2 separate regions of the Homo sapiens genome follow, and region 1 is linked to region 2. The links are contacts of gene promoters, found by promoter capture Hi-C in blood cells and fetal thymus (Javierre and others, 2016). All regions are on one chromosome and are shown on one strand. Each heading gives the region's core, a stretch centred on a gene start or on the middle of the fragment in contact. The rest is flanking DNA. Distances are from core to core; before and after follow the strand shown. Region 1 holds the start of KRTAP2-1 (keratin associated protein 2-1). Region 2 holds the start of KRTAP17-1 (keratin associated protein 17-1).

Region 1 (5,044 bases), core at 2,494-4,993, 270 kb before region 2:
TGATTAGTTTCTGTATAGTTCTGTACGACTCATTTCTCTGGCCTTTGACCTCTGTCTTTATAAGGAGCTATCATGAGAATTGTCCCAATGCCCTGCTCTTGTTATGCCATTTTCCTGCCCCAAAGCTTTCAACAACTCCTTACTGCTTATTGCATTAAGGGTGTACTCCGTTGGCTAGTATTCAAAGCATACAAATTTTCCAAATCTTTCTTTCATTATCACTCTATATATATCCAGTGCCCCCAGCCAAACCGTACTCTGAACAACCCTATGGTTCCCCTCCCTCCACACCTTTGCTCATACTATTTCTATTGCTGAGAATGCCATCCCTGTGATCTGGACACCACAATCTGAACCTATATAAAATGTTAGCTTCTCTTTTCAATCTTTCTTATTTTCCCCAACCAACAGTGACTTCTGTGTTGACACCACACAGTGTTGTACTTTTATTTTTTAATATTCTAGTTTTTAGATGAATTATAGGTGAATATGACTCATGTCTCTAGAATCTTTTTGAAGATGGGAACATTTTTAATTCAATTTTACTTTCTATTTTATACCATATAGCCTGTGACTTGCATATGGTAGGCAAGCAGCACATTTAGACCCTATTTCTTAACTCATTTAAAAACAACCCAAAATGGATTAAATACTTAAATATAAGACCACATATAATAAAACAACTAGAAGAAAACCCACAGGAAACATTTTATGACACTTGTCTGGGCAATGGTTTTTTCTTGGGGGGATAAGACCTCAAAGGCACAGGCAACAAAAGTGAAAGTAAACAAATGGGATTATATAAAATTAAAACCTTCTGCACAGCAAAGGAAACAATCAAATCAGCAGAGTGAAGAGACAGCCTAGAGAATGGGAGAAAATATTTTCTTTTTTGGTACTTTTTTTTTTATTATACTTTTAAGTTCTAGGGTACATGTGCACAACGTGCAGGTTTGTTACATATGTATACGTGTGCCATGTTGGTGTGCTGCACCCATTAACTCATCATTTACATTAGGTATATCTCCTAATGCTATCCCTCCCCCCTCCCCCCACCACACAACAGTCCCCGGTGTGTGATGTTCCCCCTCCTGTGTCCAAGTGTTCTCATTGTTCAATTCCCACCTATGAGTGAGAACATGCGGTGTTTGGTTTTCTGTCCTTGTGATAGTTTGCTGAGAATGATGGTTTCCAGCTTCATCCATGTCCCTACAAAGGACATGAACTCATCATTTTTTATGGCTGCATAGTATTCCATGTATATGTGCCACATTTTCTTAATCCAATCTATCATTGATGGACATTTGGGTTGGTTCCAAGTCTTTGCTATTGTGAATAGTGCTGCAATAAACATACATGTGCATGTATCTTTATAGCAGCATGATTTATAATCCTTTGGGTATATACCCAGTAATGGGATGGCTGGGTCAAATGGTATTTCTAGTTCTAGATCCCTGAGGAATCGCCACACTGTCTTCCACAATGGTTGAACTAGTTTACAGTCCCACCAACAGTGTAAAAGTGTTCCTATTTCTCCACATCCTCTCCAGCACCTGTTGTTTCCTGACTTTTTAATGATCACCATTCTAACTGGTGTGAGATGGTATCTCATTGTGGTTTTGATTTGCATTTCTCTGATGGCCAGTGATGATGAGCATTTTTTCATGTGTCTGTTGGCTGCATAAATGTCTTCTTTTGAGAAGTGTCTGTTCATATCCTTCACCCACTTATTGATGGGGTTGTTTGTTTTTTTCTTGTAAATTTGTTTGAGTTCTTTGTAGATTCTGGATATTAGCCCTTTGTCAGATGAGTAGATTGCAAAAATTTGGGAGAAAATATTTTCAAACTATGCATCTGACCAGGGGTTAATATCTAGAATATATAAGGAACTTGAACAACTCAACAGTGAATAATAATAAAAAATCCAATTAAAAATAGGTAAAAGACCTGAATAGATATTTCACAAAAGAAAACATACAAATTTCCAACACATATATGAAGAAGTGCTCAGCATCACTAATCATCAGGAAATGCAAATCAAAACCGCAATGAGATACCATATCACCACAATTAGAATGGCTATTATCAAAAATACAAAAAGATAACAAATGCTGGTGTGGATGTGGAAAAAAGGGAACTCATACAAGGTTAGAGGGAATGTAAAGTAGTATAGCCATTATGGAAAACAGTATGGAGGGTTCCCCAAAAATTAAAAATAGGACGATCATGTGATCCAGGAATCCCACTACTGAGTATATACGCAAAGGAAATGAAATCAGTATGTTGAGGAGATTTCTGCACTTCCATGTTTATTGCAGCACGATTCACAACAGCCAACATATGAAAACAATCTAAGTGTTCATCAATGGATGAATGGATAAAGAAAATGTGACACACACTCACACCCAAACACACAATGAAATACTATCAGCCATGAAAAAGAATGAAATACTGTCATGTGCAGCAACATGGATGAACCTGGGGGACATTATGTTAAGTGAAATTAACCAGGCACAGAAAGACAAATAGCACATTCACTCACTCCTATGTGAAATCTAAAGAAGTTGATCTCATAGAAGTAGAGAGTAGAATAGTGACTACCAGAGGCTGGGGAGGGTGAGAGGAGGGGAGGATAGGCAGAGATTGGTCTACAGGTACAAAGTTACAGGTAGATAGGAGGGATAAGTTTTGGTATTCTAATGTACAGTAGGGTGACTGTGGTTAGTAATATTTTATCATATATTTCAAAATAGCGATCAGAGAATATTTTAAATGATCTTACCATGAAGAAATGATAAATGTATGAGGTGACGAATATGCTAAACACCCTGACTTGATTATTACACAACGTATACATGTATGGAAACATTACATTGCACCCCATAAATATGTACAATTATGTGTCAGTTTTTTTAATTAAAAAATTAATTTAATACAAAATATTAGAATGAGTAAATAAAACCAAATCTTTTTGCAAGGCCAAAGAACAGATATTTATTAGAAAATAAACATGCCACGAAATCTTAAGAAGAAGGAAATTGCTTCTTTTACAGACTTCAGAATGGCCCAGGTCTTAATAGATGAGCCCAGTGCTCGGTTCCCTGCTTGGTTGATGTGGGGTTTTGTGGGCTCAGGGCAGGAGGTTTGTTAAAGTAGAGAAATGGGAGTGTGACTTTTTCAGAAGGTGAGTTACGCGTTCCGGGCAGTCAGTGCACTGCTCAGCAGGAGGAGGTCCTGCAGGTGGTGCTGCAAGGGGTCGGCTGGCCGCAGGGGGACTGCACAGACACAGGCTGGCAGCAGGTGGTGGCTCAGCAGGAGGAGGTCCTGCAGGTGGTGCTGCAAGGGGTCGGCTGGCCGCAGGGGGGCCGGCAGCAGGGGGACTGCACAGACACAGGCTGGCAGCAGGTGGTGGCCCAGCAGCAGGGCCTGCACACCACAGCCGTGCACGACGAGGGGCAGCAGGTGATGGGGCGGCAGCAGCCTTCCTGCAGGGAGCAGGGGTCGCAGCACACCGGGCGGCGGCAGGGCTCGCAGATGGGGCGCGTGCAGCGGGGCACGCAGGTCACGGGGCGGCACACGGTGGTCTGGCAGGTCACGGGGCGGCAGCAGCAGGGGTCGCGGCAGCAGCAGGGCTGGCAGCAGCCTCCCCCGTAGCTCAGGGAGGAGAAGGTGGAGCCGCAGCAGGAGCCGGTCATGGTGGTGTCTGAGGCTGGTGTGGGTTGGGCTGTGGAGAGGAGCTGGATGTTCTCAGGTGTGAATGTCCTCCTCCCCCTCTGGGCCCTTTATATACCCTGGCCGGGTGCAGGTGACCCTTTTCGTTTACCTTTTGGCCAATTAAGTAGAATTTTGTTTTGACTAATGGTTGCTTGTGACACACTCATTATCTCACTAAAGAGCTCTTGTTTTATCTCTAAGTATGGATGTACTCACATTGGGTGAAAATCTAAGAACTCATCGTCATTTGAGGTGATAGTAGCTCTTGATGCTTATTTTGAGTAGATAACACTGGATCAAATCTGGACAAAACGGTCTAAAAAAACTTCAGTTTTTAAAAGAAATTAAAAACATAGAGAAGTACATAGAACATTGAGTAGAGCCTATCCTGACCCCAATAGGGGACTCAAGTCCTTGGAAGCACCTACATGTGAAACGTGAATCACACGAGTGTTAGACAAGCCCTCCCACGTAGTCTGCTTGGGAATACGTTTGATTATCACTTGATATAGTGGGATACATAGGCCTTGAATAGGATAGCAGCTCATAGAGTTGTACAGGACAGACAAAAATTTTTGCAAACCACTAAGTGTTGGAATAAAACCTCCAAGACTGCCTTGCATGTTTTCTTTTCTCTAGTTCAGGTTCTGTGCAACTCTGGTCTTTCTGTCATAAGATGCTGATTTTTATCTCTGAAACATGTCATTTTTTAGCGTTGCCTTTCTTGTGCATGTAATGAAGAATTCTGTAATGGGAAATTTTTCTGAATATACCTTGTTGGCCGGGCGCAGTGGCTCATGCCTGTAATCCCAACACCTGGGGAGGCCAAGGCAGGTGGATCACCTGAGCTCAGGAGTTCAAGACCACCCTGGGCAACATGGTGAAACCTCAACTCTAATAAAATACAAAAAATTAGCTGGGTGTGGTGGCAGTGCCTGTAGTCCCAGCTGTGCCGGAGGCTGGGGAACGAGAATCACTTGAGCCCCAAAGGCGGAGGTTGCAGTGAGCCGAGATCATGCCATTGCACTCCAGCTTGGGCTACAGAGTGAGACTCCATCTCAAAAAAGAAATATGCATATATACTTTGACATAGGTGCTCTGATTAGCAAGTGACAAGAAAGGGGTTTTCAACCAACATTGCACACATATCCAGAACACTGTTCAGGGGTAGACGCATTGGGAGGCTGCCCAGTGTTCTGCTGTGGCACTGCTAAAAGCGTGATGGATGCGCTTCTTCAGGAAGTGTTGCCAGGGGCAGTTCAGGAACTACATGGGGGAAACAGTCCCATTACTTTCCAGCTTTACTCCTCCTGTTAGTCACCAGACAGGG
Region 2 (5,040 bases), core at 177-2,676:
ACTGCGCAGAACATCCTCAGAAACTGTGAATTCACTAGCTTTGCCATTAGAAATCCTTTCCATTCAGAACCAATCTTGTTTTACCAAAGCCTCCTTTCCGACTTTGCCAGAAAGTTCTGATCAAGCCTGAAGCCCTCCTGCAGAACCATCCTAGGAGAGCTGTAGTGCAGAAGAAAGCCATGCCCCTCAATCACCATTAAATGTGGCCAGCATCAGCATTCACCCAGGAGCTTTTAAAAATGCAGGTCCCTAGGGACTCTAGGCCCTAGAGCTAACGGGTAAAATCTCCAGTGATAAAACCCAATGATCTATATTTTTAAAAGCTTTTCAAGTGAATCTCATGCAGCACACGGAAGCTTCCGTCTAGATCTATGGTTCTCAAACTTCAGTGCATAAGAATTATCTAAGGTTCTTGTTAAAAACACAGATTCCCAGGCCACACTTTGGTGGATTCTGATTCTGTATGTCTTAGGGAGGGCCTCAGAGTCTCCAGTTTTAACAAGCTCCCAGGTGATTCCGACGCAGGTGATCCAAAAACCACAATTCAAAAACCCTAAGGCAGATGCCAGAGTGAATTTTTCTAACCCAGTCCTCAGCAGGGAGGTCAAGGAAGAGGCAAGAGAACTAATTAGGTTATGCCAGCATGCTCAAATTTATTAAGAGGCTCACAAAGAAGATGGACCTTTTTTGCATCTCAAAGCTGCAGAAAGCCAGGGCGGAGGATCAGTCCCAAAGACACCTTGAAGAAGAGGATGTCTTATAGTACAAGACATTGAACTTCATGTGAATAAGTAAAGTATTGGGGATTCACCCTTGAGCTTGGGATCACTTAGTTGTGACCGAGTTTTAATGTTTCATCAGAGTATGGCTCTTGTTCTCGGTGCCTTGAAATACCAGAGAAGGTGTTGGAGAACAAGCCCTCCTCTACAAATCACAGAAAGACAAGACACTGTCTTGGGGGTATGGAAGGTTCTGGACACGAGGGGCTGTCCCCCTGGAGCAGATGGAGGCTTTCGGTGGGACTGCATCAGTGGTGGAGGGAAAGGTCTTCATTTTGTGTCGCATATAGGTGTGGGCTGGCAGCACACAGGCCCACAGCACCCGGAGCCGCAGCAACTGGACCCACAGCAACTGGATCCACAGCAGCCACCCCCGCAGCCTCCGCAGCCTCCACAGCCTCCGCAGCCAGATCCACAGCAAGACGATCCGCAGCAGCTGCCCCCGCAGCCAGAGCCCCCGCAGCCAGAGCCCCCACAGCCACAGCAGGAGCCGCAGCAGCCACAGCAGCCCGGCTGACAGCAGCACTCTTCACAGCAGTTTTGCTCCTGGGTGCAGCAGGTGAAGCAGTCCCCCGGGCAGCACCCCATGGTCCGGGCCCGTCAGCTCGCAGGTCGGTAACGCAGCCGGAGTTCCCCACGACTGACGGTGGCCAGCCATCTGGATGGCAGCTTTTATATCCCCTCACCCAGGCATGAGGGACGGGATGTTTTCTTTGTTATTATTTATGCAAGTTTCCATAAGACCGGCTCATTAACTGGCTGTTTATTTTCCAGTCCTGAGTACCTCAACTCATAAAAACGCCCCACTCCTGCCAACTGCTGTTTATCCAGAGGGTAAAAATACATCTTCGAAAAGACCTGTCATCATGGCCAAGCATCTGCCAGCTGTCATTAGCCCAGGTTGGAGATGGGAAGGGGAAGCCGGCCACAGCTTCTGGCTCTGGAATGAGGGGCTTGCCTTCCACATCTTCGCAGGTTGGCGATGGACCCCATCTTCCATGGATGCTAGTCCTGGAAAGGCAGACCGGCAACAGCCGAATGCTCTGTTCCCCCTGACACCAGTGGAGGCTACTGAGAACGCCTGGTCACGTGGCTCCTCCCAGGTGGAAATGGCATCCTCATCCCGGTTCATGTGAGCCAGGCAAATGTTTGTGTCTGTGTGTGGTATGGGGAGTGTGCCACACGTTTAGGCTTGGCCGGTGAGCATCAGTCATGAGTAATAACTGCCCTGTGAAACCGAGAGAGACTCATCGTAAAGCTGCAAGAAGCTGGTAAGGCATGGTCTGTCTCGGCGGCAAGGTGAGCTGAATATTCGCACTTCTCTCTAAATAGGTGGGAAGAACTGAGATCAGAACCCTCTACCCACCCCCACTCCAGCCCCAGGCCTTTCCTTGACCGGGGAAGGAAGAGATGCAGGAGGAGGAAGAAGAGGAGAAGGGGAGGAAGAAAGGAAAGAAGAAAAGAAAGAAGAAAGCAGGAAGGAGATCAGTAAATATCCAAAATGCTACATTAAAATGGGAATGTAACGCACTTTTTTTAAGAGTTCGAACCTTATAGACCATCTGGCAGAAGGAGAAATTAGAATACAAAATACCCAGAGTGTCATCCCAAGGAATAAAATGCCTTTGCAAGGAGTCTAAAATCTACAGATGGTTCAGGTCCATGTGTAAATTTTGAGATGGGTCAAAATTTCTGTCTCTTTCTTGGACTTTGGTACCTTGTTCTCCTCTTGGAGTGCCCATGGCAGCCCTGGAGCTGGAATACAACATCTAGTAGGGGTAGAGGACAGAAGATAGGGGTGGGGTGGGAATGGAAGGAGGGATGGGAGTAAGGATCTGGATCAAGGGATCTAGTCCTTCCCTTTTCATTTCCCTTTCTTTGTAAGATGGGCTAGAAGTAAGACAGCCTCTAAGAAGGGCTAGAAGAACTAAGGACAGGGTGGGAGTCGGGAGGGTAAATGATGAATGAGTTACTTGGATCTGATATGATACTCAATACTTCACAGGATATGGAATTTTAGAGCTGGGAGGAACCCCTGAAACATCATCTGGTCCAGGGTTTTATATCAGAATTGCCTAAAAGGGGGCCTTTTGAAAAATACAGATTCCCAAACTGTATTCCAGTCCTTATGATAAATCAGAATGTGTGCTTATGAGAGCTTGAGAAGCTATATATTTTAAACTTTCTCAGGTAACTTGGGTTACATTAGGAAACACTGATATAATCTAATCCTATCATGACCATCACTGCCAAGCACTTGTGTTTTACAGAAGATGATACCAAGGCCCAGAGATGACACATCCGTGGTAGATTGGACCCATGGCCCAGATGTTCTCCCTCCTGGTCCACTGTTTCTTCCACCATACCACATCCACAGATGGGCACCTCTGAGTGAGTATAATACAGCAATGTCTATGGCAGACGTGTCCTTTTTTGTTTGTTTGTTTGTTTTTTTGAGATGGAGTCTCACTCTGCTGCCCAGGCTGGAGCGCAGTAGCTTGATCTTGGCTCATGGCAACTTCCGCCTCCTGGGCTCAAACGATGCTCCTGACTTAGCCTCCCAAGTACCTGGGATTACAGGCACGCACCAACAAGCCCAGCTAATTGCTGTATTTTTAGTAGAGACAGGGTTTCGCCATGTCGCACAGGCTGGTCTGGATCTCCTGACCTCAAGTGATCTGCCCGCCTCGGCCTCCCGAAGTGCTGGGATTACAGGCGTGAGCCACTGCACCCGGCCGACACATCCTTTTACATATTTATTTATTTTAATAAGAGGTCAAGCATTCCCAGGATAAAAGGTACAAAAGAGTAGAAAGTCTTCCTCATCTTCCAATGTCTCACCATTCAGTTCTCCTGCCTCTCACCCACCCCCTCGCTGCTCCCATAATTACTTAACCCCTGTGTACCTGAATTTCTTCATCTATAAAACAGAAATTAGGATAATAATAGTAGCAGTGTCGTAGAGCTGTTTTGATTAAATGAGTAAATATAAATGTATACATATTGAACACTTGGTTGTTTGAACAACTTGAAAATATAAATTATCATACTTTTATATTTAACAATTCATATACTCATGAGCATTTACTCAGATTAAGTACAACATTCAGTGTGCAACTCAAATTATACACTATGATTTCAATTGTGTAAATGTACATGTCATGATGAGGACTTGAAGTCCTCATGGTGGTGTTATTTTTCTTCTGCAATTTATTTCACTGTTGGTCTTTCCACACAAATTGGGCAGCAGTAGGGACTTTTTATATTTACTGCCCCCAGGGTAGGGTTATTACTGTAGAAATGCAGAGAGAATGACTTAGGTCAATGCTTAGCTTATACAATTCAAAGTAGACTTTTGCAATGCAGGAGAGTGGGTGGTCAGATGACCAGGTCCATCTAGCCGCCTGGATGGGGTAATGAGAGGATGTAGACGTAGAGGATGTAGTTCTTTTGTGGACTAAAAGAACTCTAATATCTTGGTTGATGCCATGAGAGGGATGATAGGGCCAAGAGTAAGAGAGAACCATGTATATTTCAGCAAATTCCCACCATGAACCTGTTGCCAGCCTCTTGAAGGCTATGAAATTTCCATTTGATTCAAACATAACACCCCTCAAAGCTCAGACACCTCCTCCAGATGAAGGTTGGGAGGGAGAAATCCTGAATGATTTCTGTGTTTACATAGAACTGACTTTTATTTTTTTCCCCCATAAGGTGGAATGAGGGTTTGAAATAAGTTTAAACAGTCTCAGAGGAAAATAAAGTTATATATTTTTAACATATCTTAGAACATGAATTTTGAAATTTGTAACTAATATATGTTATTATATATTTATATATGTATATATCTTTATGGATACTTATCTACATTAATATAAATATTTACATGCAGATATTTGAAAAAACACTAAAAGGAAAACTAAAGTATTAGCAGTAAATGTATTTATTGTGGCATGATAAATGATTTTTATTTTCTTCTCTTTTTTGTATTTTTTAGAAATTTGCAGTGTGTAGGTATGAAATTTATAATGTAAACATTTTATTATTATTATTATTTGAATACAGTGTCAAAGGCAAATGAAAACCTGGGAACAATACAAGTAACTCATAGACAAAGCTTGCTTTCATTTTCTATTTAACAAAGGATTTCCATCAATCAAAGAGAAAGACCAGCAACCGAGTAGAAAAATTGACAATGGAGATGAAAAGATAATTCATGGAAGAGGGAATATGAATAGCATTTGAGCATATGAAATATTGC

The links. Contacts are between HindIII fragments. The CHiCAGO score rates a contact against its expected background, and 5 or more counts as called.
Region 1: a contact is called between the fragment with the promoter of KRTAP2-1 here and the fragment with the promoter of KRTAP17-1 in region 2, in 5 of 17 cell types (M2 macrophages, total B cells, M0 macrophages and 2 more). The highest score is 7.1, in M2 macrophages.

The regions. Positions count from the first base shown.
Region 1 is chr17:41,043,573-41,048,616 of GRCh38, forward strand. It overlaps KRTAP2-1 (keratin associated protein 2-1), which reads right to left and starts at 3,744. Exons shown (of 1, transcript NM_001123387.1): 1 at 2,969-3,744. The coding sequence starts at 3,695. The coding sequence ends at 3,309. The HindIII fragment of the contact is 11,978 bases long and covers 124-5,044 here.
Region 2 is chr17:41,314,284-41,319,323 of GRCh38, forward strand. It overlaps KRTAP17-1 (keratin associated protein 17-1), which reads right to left and starts at 1,427. Exons shown (of 1, transcript NM_031964.2): 1 at 629-1,427. The coding sequence starts at 1,367. The coding sequence ends at 1,050. The HindIII fragment of the contact is 4,540 bases long and covers 355-4,894 here.